Regions from separate parts of the Homo sapiens genome. Here region 1 is linked to region 2. The links are contacts of gene promoters, found by promoter capture Hi-C in blood cells and fetal thymus (Javierre and others, 2016). All regions are on one chromosome and are shown on one strand. Each heading gives the region's core, a stretch centred on a gene start or on the middle of the fragment in contact. The rest is flanking DNA. Distances are from core to core; before and after follow the strand shown. Region 1 overlaps ERICH1 (glutamate rich 1). Region 2 holds the start of CLN8 (CLN8 transmembrane ER and ERGIC protein).

Region 1 (4,562 bases), core at 1,402-3,901, 1.1 Mb after region 2:
GGTGGCAGCTGTGGATTCTCTTGGACTTTCCGTGTTTTCGGGGAGGGGTGGCAGCTGTGTATTCTCTTGGACTTTCTGTGTTTTCAGGGGAGGGGTGGCAGCTATGGATTCTCTTGGACTTTCTGTGTTTTCAGGGGTGGCAGCTGTGGATTCTCTTGCATCTTCTGTGTTCACAGGGGTGGCAGCTGTGGATTCTCTTGCATCTTCTGTGTTCACAGGGGTGGCAGCTGTGGATTCTCTTGCATCTTCTGTGTTCACAGGGGTGGCAGCTATGGATTCTCTTGGACTTTCTGTGTTCACAGGGGTGGCAGCTGTGGATTCTCTTGCATCTTCTGTGTTCACAGGGGTGGCAGCTGTGGATTCTCTTGCATCTTCTGTGTTCACAGGGGTGGCAGCTATGGATTCTCTTGGACTTTCTGTGTTCACAGGGGTGGCAGCTGTGGATTCTCTTGCATCTTCTGTGTTCACAGGGGTGGCAGCTGTGGATTCTCTTGCATCTTCTGTGTTCACAGGGGTGGCAGCTGTGGATTCTCTTGCATCTTCTGTGTTCACAGGGGTGGCAGCTATGGATTCTCTTGGACTTTCTGTGTTCACAGGGGTGGCAGCTGTGGATTCTCTTGCATCTTCTGTGTTCACAGGGGTGGCAGCTGTGGATTCTCTTGCATCTTCTGTGTTCACAGGGGTGGCAGCTGCGTTTCTTCCCTTCCAGCTCTTGCACACGTTGTCTCCCTGGTGCCCTGCCTGGAGCCCCAGTGTGGAGGTGACCACAGTGATGTCACAGGACCTGTTGGAGAAAAGGCTTTCAGCATTTCAACATGACTTATGACCTTGCCTGTGGGTTCTTGTAGGTATCCGGTATCCGATTTAGATTTCTTCCTTTGAGGCAGTTTGATTTGAGATTTTATCATACACTTTACATGACTGGAATCTCGTGAATATCTTGCATGGAATATTTGTAGCAGCATCCACGGGAGAGATGGGCCCGTGGCCCTCCCTTCTTGCAATGCCCTTGTCAGGGGAGTGGAGACGCTGGAGGCCTCACAGAGCTGCGAGGGGTGGGTGCTGTGAGGGGTGGGAGCTGTGACGGCCAGAGCTTTTGTGAGGGCTGGGTGCTGTGATGGGTGGGAGCTGTGAGGGGTGGGTGCTGTGAGGGGCCAGAGCTTTTGTGAGGGGTGGGAGCTGTGAGGGGTCACTGCTGTGAGGGGTGGAAGCCGTGAGGGGTCACTTGCTGTGAGCAGTAGGAGCTGTGAGGGATCAAAGCTGTGAGGGGTCGGAGCTGAAGCTGTGAGTTGGGAGCTGTGAGGGGTCACTGCTGAGAGGGACTGGAGCTTTGAGGGGTGGGTGCTGTGAGGGGTGGGAGCTGTGAGGGGCCGGAGCTTTGACGGGTGAGAGCTGTGAGAGGTGGGAGCTGTGAGGAGTCGGAGCTGTGAGGGGTCACTGCTGTAAGGGGTGGGAGCTGTGAGAGGTCACTGCTGAGGGATGGGAGCTGTAAGGGGTCACTTGCTGTGAGTAGGAGCTGTGAGGGATCAAAGCTGTGAGGGGTCGGAGCTGAAGCTTTGAGGGGCCAGAATCATAAGAGGCCAGAGCTGTGACGGTCGTCAGAGCCATGAGGGCCCAGAGCCGTGAGGGACGTTGGAGTCGTCAGGGGTCATTATCTTTTCTGCTATCTGGAAACGGGTATGTAAGACATGTGTTGGCTTTTTCTTTTCTTTTGAGATGGAGTCTCGCGCTGTCACCCAGGCTGGAGTGCAGTGGTGCAATCTGGGCTCACTGCAAGCTCCGCCTCCCAGGTTCAAGCGATTCTTCTGCCTCAGCCTCCGGAGTAGCTGGGACTACAGGCACCTGCCACCATGCCTGGCTAATTTTTGTATTTTTAGTAGAGACTGGGTTTCACCGTGTTAGCCAGGATGGTCTCAATCTCCTGACCTCGTGATCCGCCCGCCTCGGCCTCCCAAGACTTTTTCTTTAAATGTTTAGTAAAAGTCACAGGTGAACCTATCTAAGCCTGAAGTTCTTTTGTGGGATTATTTTTAACTAGACTCATTTTTTAAGACAGATGCAGGAATATTGTGATTTTCTGTTTCTTTCTGTGTCCATTGGCTAAATTGTACTTTTCTCAGGAATCTGTTTCTAACGGATTAACTGATTTGCATGTCGTTGTGTGCAGTATCCTTTCATTACCTTCTTAACACCAACAAGACGTATCGGCACTTCCGTGTTCCCGATGCTGGATTTTCAAGCCTCCTCTCTTAAACTAGACTTGGAAATCAGAGAAATTGGGAGGAAAAAAGCAGCCTATACTTAGACCACCCAAGGAGTAACTGCAGGGAGCATCCTGAGAAAAGGATGTCCAGTCTCTTTTTTTTTTAATGTATATTAACTTTTCCTTTTCAAAAGTACACGCATACACATTTATGTGAAAAAAATATGACAAACTTAACATTTTATGGCCTTTTTGCCTCCTTCACCTTTTTAAATTACTGTTTTATAGTCTTATAAAAATAGATCAATAGCGCAGTCGATCTCAACAGGGCAACCATTTGTTTGTCTTGTAGTCTTAGGAGGGGAAGCTGACCCCGGGGTACGACACTGGCGATGAGCGGCACTGACAGAGCTGGCAGAGAAGGACGTGCCGGGAGGAGCCTGGGGGGTGATGAGCAGCATTCCGCAGTGTTCTTGCTGGGTGATGAGGGTCGCCCCCGTGACCTGTCGCATCCTAGAGGGGCTTCCTGTGGGTGGGAAAACACTCGATGTGTTACTTATCTCCAAATTCATGAAGGCAGTCACATTTTTTAATAGACACCTAAGAGGAGAGGCTTAATTTCATCTTTTTTTAACAGAACCTGGGAAATTAAAATGGATTGCCTAGACGTGGTTGGTTTTAAACATCAGTGTGTTCAGGGCAGACCCAGAGGCTGCTGTTCAAAGACGTCTGGACCAGGCTGGTTGGTCAGACCTGCGCAGTGGACCCCAAAAGCAACAACACACACTCGCAGATGAAATTATTCAAACACCCACTGGTGAGTGAGGAGCGAGATGAAGGTGTCGAGGAGACTCAGGCTTGGCGGCTTCATCTTGGGACTGTGTGCGGAGCTGCTTCAGCCTGTGCCACGCTGTGGTGGTGGAGGCTGTGCAGAACGGATACCAATCACAACAAGACACGGTGGGAACTCTCTTCCACAAAGCGGCAGCAATGTCATCTCACAGTTCCACAGCGGCGTTCAGTTTGACCGTGAACAGAGCTGGGGGGTGTCTACATCCAATGAAGAGGGGAGGCTGGTGCTTGGTAAAATACTTCCTGTATTTTCAGGGTGAGAGAAACCGATGCGACTGCTTTATCGAGTCATGGGGTGGGACTGCGTCACAGCTTGCGGTGTCCGCAGCTGGCGAAGAGCCCGGAGCTCACCCTCTGCAGGGTTCCTGTCCAGCATGCGGGCAGGCCCTGGGCTTTGAGGGCGGTGTGCTTGAGGCTGTTGAGACAGAGGAGAATAGGAAACCGCTTTGAAGAGCTTCATTGTGGAAGAGGAACTCATGTATTCTATCTCATTTCAGAGGTGAAGGGAAAGCGCTTGAGTGGAAATGATAGGGAATCTGCCCTTACAGTGTCTCACAAACTTCACTCACGTTGTTTCATCTTGATTCTTCACAATCTGTGATGGGGTGCACAGCTCAGAAAACTCCAACAGGCGCTTCCTAAAATGAGAACTGTCTGAACCCCCGCCCTTGGCGTGGTGCAGCGGCAAGCTTTATAGTTCTAGGTCTGCTCGGGCAACACCCGGGAGCCGTGTGCCGGCCGTGGCACAGACGCCCGTGGTATAGACTTTACCCATCAGTGTCTGGGCGGGGCTTGGGTGTGGGGCGGGGCGTGTGCGCCATGTGCCGTCTGTTCTTGGCCTGCACACACCCTCTGTTCCCCCCGCATGGCGCCAGTTACTTATCTGATACCCTTCTGTCAGGGAGCAGCAGCACGGGTAGTGTGCCTCTGTCCTCACGAGGGGCCGCCGCGCCTCTGTCCTCACGAGGGGCCGCCGCGTCTCTGTCCTCGCCGAGGGGCCGCCGCGTCTCTGTCCTCGCCGAGGGGCCGCCGCGTCTCTGTCCTCGCCGAGGGGGCGCCGCGTCTCTGTCCTCACGAGGGGCCGCCGCGTCTCTGTCCTCACGAGGGGCCGCCGCGTCTCTGTCCTCGCCGAGGGGCCGCCGCGTCTCTGTCCTCGCCGAGGGGGCGCCGCGTCTCTGTCCTCACGAGGGGCCGCCGCGTCTCTGTCCTCACGAGGGGCCGCCGCGCCTCTGTCCTCGCCGAGGGGCCGCCGCGTCTCTGTCCTCGCCGAGGGGCCGCCGCGTCTCTGTCCTCGCCGAGGGGGCGCCGCGTCTCTGTCCTCGCCGAGGGGGCGCCGCGTCTCTGTCCTCACGAGGGGCCGCCGCGTCTCTGTCCTCACGAGGGGCCGCCGCGTCTCTGTCCTCACGAGGGGCCGCCGCGTCTCTGTCCTCACGAGGGGCCGCCGCGTCTCTGTCCTCGCCGGGGGGGCGCCGCGTCTCTGTCCTCACGAGGGGCCGCCGCGCCTCTG
Region 2 (4,868 bases), core at 1,958-4,457:
TGTACTGAGAACAGCTGTGGTTCACCCCAAGTCACAAGGTGGGCACCCACAGAAGTGTGGCTAGGCCTTGTTCTGTCAGGCAGCACAGAAGGGGTATGGGAAGAGCTCAGCTTCTCCTTTTGCTTCTATTTCTGCTCCTTGACCCAACCACACCCTCTCACTCTTGATACGCAAAATGGGACACAGGGGTTCCCACTGTTCCCTTGCTGTGCACCATAAGGCTCAGGCCACATGAAGGAGTCCTTAAGTGTAATGCACAGCTGGAAGTCACTGTTCCTTCCATGGGTAAAACTGGAGGCCGAATCGGCCGGGCAGGGTGGCTCACACCTGTAATCCCAGCACTTTGGGAGCCCAAGGTGGGAGGATCACGAGGTCAGGAGATCGAGACCATCCTGGCTAACATGGTGAAACCTTGTCTCTACTAAAATACAAAAAAAAAATAGCCAGGCGTGATGGCGAGCGCCTGTAGTCCCAGCTACTCGGGAGGCTGAGGCAGGAGAATGGCGGGAACCTGGAAGGCGGAACGTGCAGTGAGCTGAGATAGCGCCACTGCACTCCAGCCTGGGTGACAGAGTGAGGCTCCGTCTCAAAAAAAAAAAAAAAAACAAAAAACTGGAGGCCGAACCTAATGGACTCATCTGGTTCTTTCATTCTGGAAGGCTTCCAAGCCCTTCCACACCAGCCCCTTTCCTCTCTGCAGTAGAGGAAGTGGAGCCGGAGAATAAACAACTCCTGGAAGGCCACCATCTCTTGACGCTGCAGATCTTCATTTTCTTTGGAGAAAATGTATACAAAAAGCTTGTCTTATAAGATTCTGTGGTTTCAGCTCTTCTATTGCACTGGGCCATGAAGTTTTTTAAAAATCTGAATGCAAACACATCAGTAAGAGTGTTAGCTCTGTTGCTGCAGTGTGACCAGGAACCAGGCTCAGTGGCCACTGGAACCCTTCGACTCTGTCATGCATCTATGCGCTCCTCCGGTTTATGGGGGCTAAACTGCTATGGATACCAGCATTTTTGTTTTTCATTGAGATAATTTATCCAAACTTGGAAGTGACGTCAAAAGGGAAAAAAAAGGTTGCATGCTTTTTTCCCTGCTAACGCAAGTTCAGTGTTTTACAACCCCAACAATCACTTGACTTTCTAGGAGAAATAACTAAACTATTTACCACTGATTGTGGGTCACGCATTTTACAATCTGCAAAGCTAATTCTCCTTTCCATCAAGAAGAAAAGACAATCCCAAAGGCTGTGGTTTCAATGCACACAGGATATTCACCAATCTTATTATCTAATCTGGCAATCTTCTCTCAGCATTCCTGTTACCCACTCACTAAGAAAATCCTAGTTTTGTGTATTCTCTTTTGAACTGACATTCCTATCCTGCTGTATACTGCATTAATGACTGAAATATAACCTGACAAGAGCTATTTACATGAGAATTATACTTCTAACATTTTGAAAATTATACATTGATGGGTTGTAAAAATGTTTTCCAAAATCAACAGAAATACATGTTTAATACACAAAATTCAGAAAATATAAACAAGCATAAAAATACAAAAATAAAAATTTACAATCCTCTTACACAGCTCCAAGCACCATCACTATTTTTTGGTGCCTGCTGGGTCAATTGTTTTTCTAGATATAAACTCTTCTTTTTACATAAAAGGGGATAACAGTATACAAGCTGCTCCCCGGCCTGCTTCTCTTCTCTCAGCAACAGCTAATCCTCCTCTGCAACACGGTTGCAGGGACTCCACCATTTACCTACCCGGTGTCCTACCAGGCTTTTGCCCAGTTCCTCGTTATCAGAAGACATTGTGTATTGAACATCTCTGAGGCCACCTAGAGAACCTGTGCTCTTTGTATGGAAACTGGATGCTCAGGAAGAACTTCCTTAACAACCACAGCCTCCATGACGGCCAATCTGAAAGTGAGGCACAGAAGTGTTCAAGCTCAGTGGGGAGCTGTGGCCATCTCATATTCCCTCAATCACTCACACTTCCTGCACCATTGCTCTTTCCTCTCACAACCTTCCTGAAAAGTTGTATGTAAATAAAAATCAAAATACGGGAGTGAGGTAAGCAGAAGCTGGATAGTTACAGATTTCACACAGAGGGTAAACTGAAACAGGAGTCAGAAGCAGCCGCCTCGCGCCAGTCTTTCAGAGAAGAGTCACTTACAGCAGAATCTACACAGGCTGGGGAGCCCCTGGCTCCCCTCCCTACTGTCCACACCCAACCCCAACCTAGAGCAGCTGGCTATAGGGCCCAGAGCCCAGGCGGGTCCCACCTCCTGCTGACCTGACCCAGCGCCCGCTCTCTCCCCCGCACACTTTGGTGACCTTACCCAGCGTCCCTCCCCGCTCCTACAGGTTCTGACTGACCCAGCGTCCCTCCGCCTCCCACACCATGTTGAGCTGCACCTTGTCCCCTTCCGCCCCAGCTAACTCGGTGACCAGTGGAGGCCACACCCACGTGACACCTGCTGTCCTTGACAGCAGCTCCGACGGCACCTCTGTGGCTCTGCAGGAGCCGCCTCCCCGCCTCGTGGGCACACAGGTGAGCTGACCGTACTTGCCCAGCCGGTCTGAGGGAAGCGAGGTCAGGGGCGACGGCGCCGCCTCCGCCTCCGCCTGTCCCCTCCCTCCGTCCGGCATCCGCGCCGCTCAAGGACTCCAAAGTCAGCGTCGCGGTGAGGAGCCCCCCACGCCCAACCCGCGCAGGCAGGACCCCGGGCTGCGGGGCTCGAAAGTCCCCCACAAGCTGCTGTCCGGGAACCGCACGGCCCGGGGTGCCGCACGCCCACCGGAAGGCAGGGCTGGGACCGCGGACGCCAGGAGCCACCCCGGCCCCTCACCCGGGCTCCCCCTCACGTGGGCTCCCGCGCGCCCATCTGGGTTCCCCCTCAGCTGAGTTCCCGGCCCCTCACCTGGGATCCCCGGTCCCCTCACCCGGGCTTCCCAGCCCCCTCGCCTGGGCTCCACGCGCGCTCACCTGGGCTGCCCCTCACCTGGGTTCCCGGCCCCTAACCCGGGCACCCCGCGCGCTCACCTGGGCTGCCCCTCACCTGGGTTCCCGGCCCTCACCCGGGCTCCCTGAGCGCTCACCTGGGCTGCCACTCAGCCGGGCTCCCTGCGCTTGGCGCCGCCCCGCCCCTGCAGGACTCCCGGCAGTCACTGACCTCATTGCCGCCCAGTCACGACTGGCCGGCCTCAAACACCGCCCGCGCACGCGCGTTCGCACGCGCGTGCGCACGCGTTCTGCCCCCCTGGGGGCGTCGCTACGAGAGGCCCCGCCTAGGCGCTACGACGGCGGCGGGCGCGGGAGGGGCGGGGCGGCGGGCGCGGGAGGGGCGCGGCGGGGGGCGGGGCGCGGCGCGGGGGGCGGGGCGCGGCGGGGGGCGGGGCGCGGCGGGGGGCGGGGCGCGGCGGGGGGCGGGGCGCGGCGGGGGGCGGGGCGCGGCGGGGGGCGGGGCGCGGCGGGGGGCGGGGCGCGGCGGGGGGCGGGGCGCGGCGGGGGGCGGGGCGCGGCGGGGGGCGGGGCGCGGCGGGGGGCGGGGCGCGGCGGGGGGCGGGGCGCGGCGGGGGGCGGGGCGCGGCGCGGCGGGCGCTGTGGGGCGGCGGGGTGGACGCGCTGAACCACGGCCGGCGGGAGGGGCGGGGCCGGGCTGAACCATGGCGGGCGGCGGCATGGGGGCGGTGGGGCTCCGCGGGCAGCCTGGTTGCGCTGCACCCGGACGGGGCCGAGGGGACCTGAAAGCTGCGGCAGAGCCTGACCGCGCCGTTCTCCAGAAGAGCCCCGGCCGCGGCTGAGTCGCGCTCCGGGTGTGGACGGAGCCGGAGCCTCCCCGGGGCTCGGTGAGGACACAGGGCCCAAGCCCCGGACCTTCAAGTCTTGACCGAGCGCATCCCCGGCCCTTCTGCGCCCACACCTGAGTTTTTGTCTGTAGGAGTTTCCGCAGTTTGCTAAGGTTGTTATTCGAGTTACTTATGTTTCTTCTCTCTAAGGTTGTTATTCGAGTTACTTATGTTTCTTCTGTCTAATGTGTTTTGTTCCCTCTTTAGAATCGACATCTAGAGGAGTACTCACCACTTAATTGATGATCAATACACGTTCCTTGAAAGAACCGATAGCATGCGATCGATACAGAGCATCTGCACTGGGATTGTCCGCCCCGCCTGTCAGGGAGGCCTCGGGGGCTAATGGAGCTGAGGGTATAGTCGGCCTTGGACCCTCGCTTTTTTCCTTTCCTGTACTATGAAGATAACTGCCTTATCTCCCCCTCAGGACTGTTTTGGGGATTAAATAGGACGTTTAAATTACCAACGCTCTTTGAAATAAACATTTCAAAATTATTATAACCCTTTAGTACATGTGGGAAAACGTTGACATTCATGTTCAAGTTTATTTTTCTGCTGGCTCATTTAGGTTTGTTGAAGCCTTGAGTCCCTAGGATTGTCTAAGAACATGGGTAAATGTGTGTGGAGGCCTCCCTGGAGGCCAGAGAACTGCCAGCAGCCTTCATGATGTTAGGGGAACAGGAACCTAGGAGAGCCAGGGTGACATCGTTTTAAAATCAACAACCCATCTTGGCGGGCGCGGTGGCTCAAGCCTGTAATCCCAGCAGTTTGGGAGAAAAAAATTAGCCGGGTGTGGTGGTGGGCACCTGTAATCTCAGCTACTCAGGAGGCTGAAGCAGAATTGCTTGAACCCAGGAGGCAGAGGTTGCAGTGAGCTGAGATCACGCCATGGCACTCTAGCCTGGGCAACAAGAATGAAACTCTGTCTCAAAAAAATAAAAATAAAATAAAATAAACTCCATCTTAAAACCAGTGAAACCACCATTGCAAAATTATAACTGAGAC

Evidence for each region. Contacts are between HindIII fragments. The CHiCAGO score rates a contact against its expected background, and 5 or more counts as called.
Region 1: a fragment that was not itself captured here is called in contact with the fragment with the promoter of CLN8 in region 2 in 1 of 17 cell types (monocytes); the score reaches 5.2 in monocytes.

What each region holds. Positions count from the first base shown.
Region 1 is chr8:675,959-680,520 of GRCh38, reverse strand. The region is part of intron 3 of ERICH1 (glutamate rich 1); the gene reads left to right. Among named protein-coding and RNA genes, the nearest start is that of ERICH1, 53 kb to the left of the region's middle. The HindIII fragment of the contact is 2,190 bases long and covers 1,557-3,746 here.
Region 2 is chr8:1,762,128-1,766,995 of GRCh38, reverse strand. It overlaps CLN8 (CLN8 transmembrane ER and ERGIC protein), which reads right to left and starts at 3,207. Exons shown (of 3, transcript NM_018941.4): 1 at 3,111-3,207. It overlaps CLN8-AS1 (CLN8 antisense RNA 1), which reads left to right and starts at 2,412. Exons shown (of 2, transcript NR_134303.1): 1 at 2,412-2,562; 2 at 4,068-4,868. The HindIII fragment of the contact is 15,536 bases long and covers 801-4,868 here.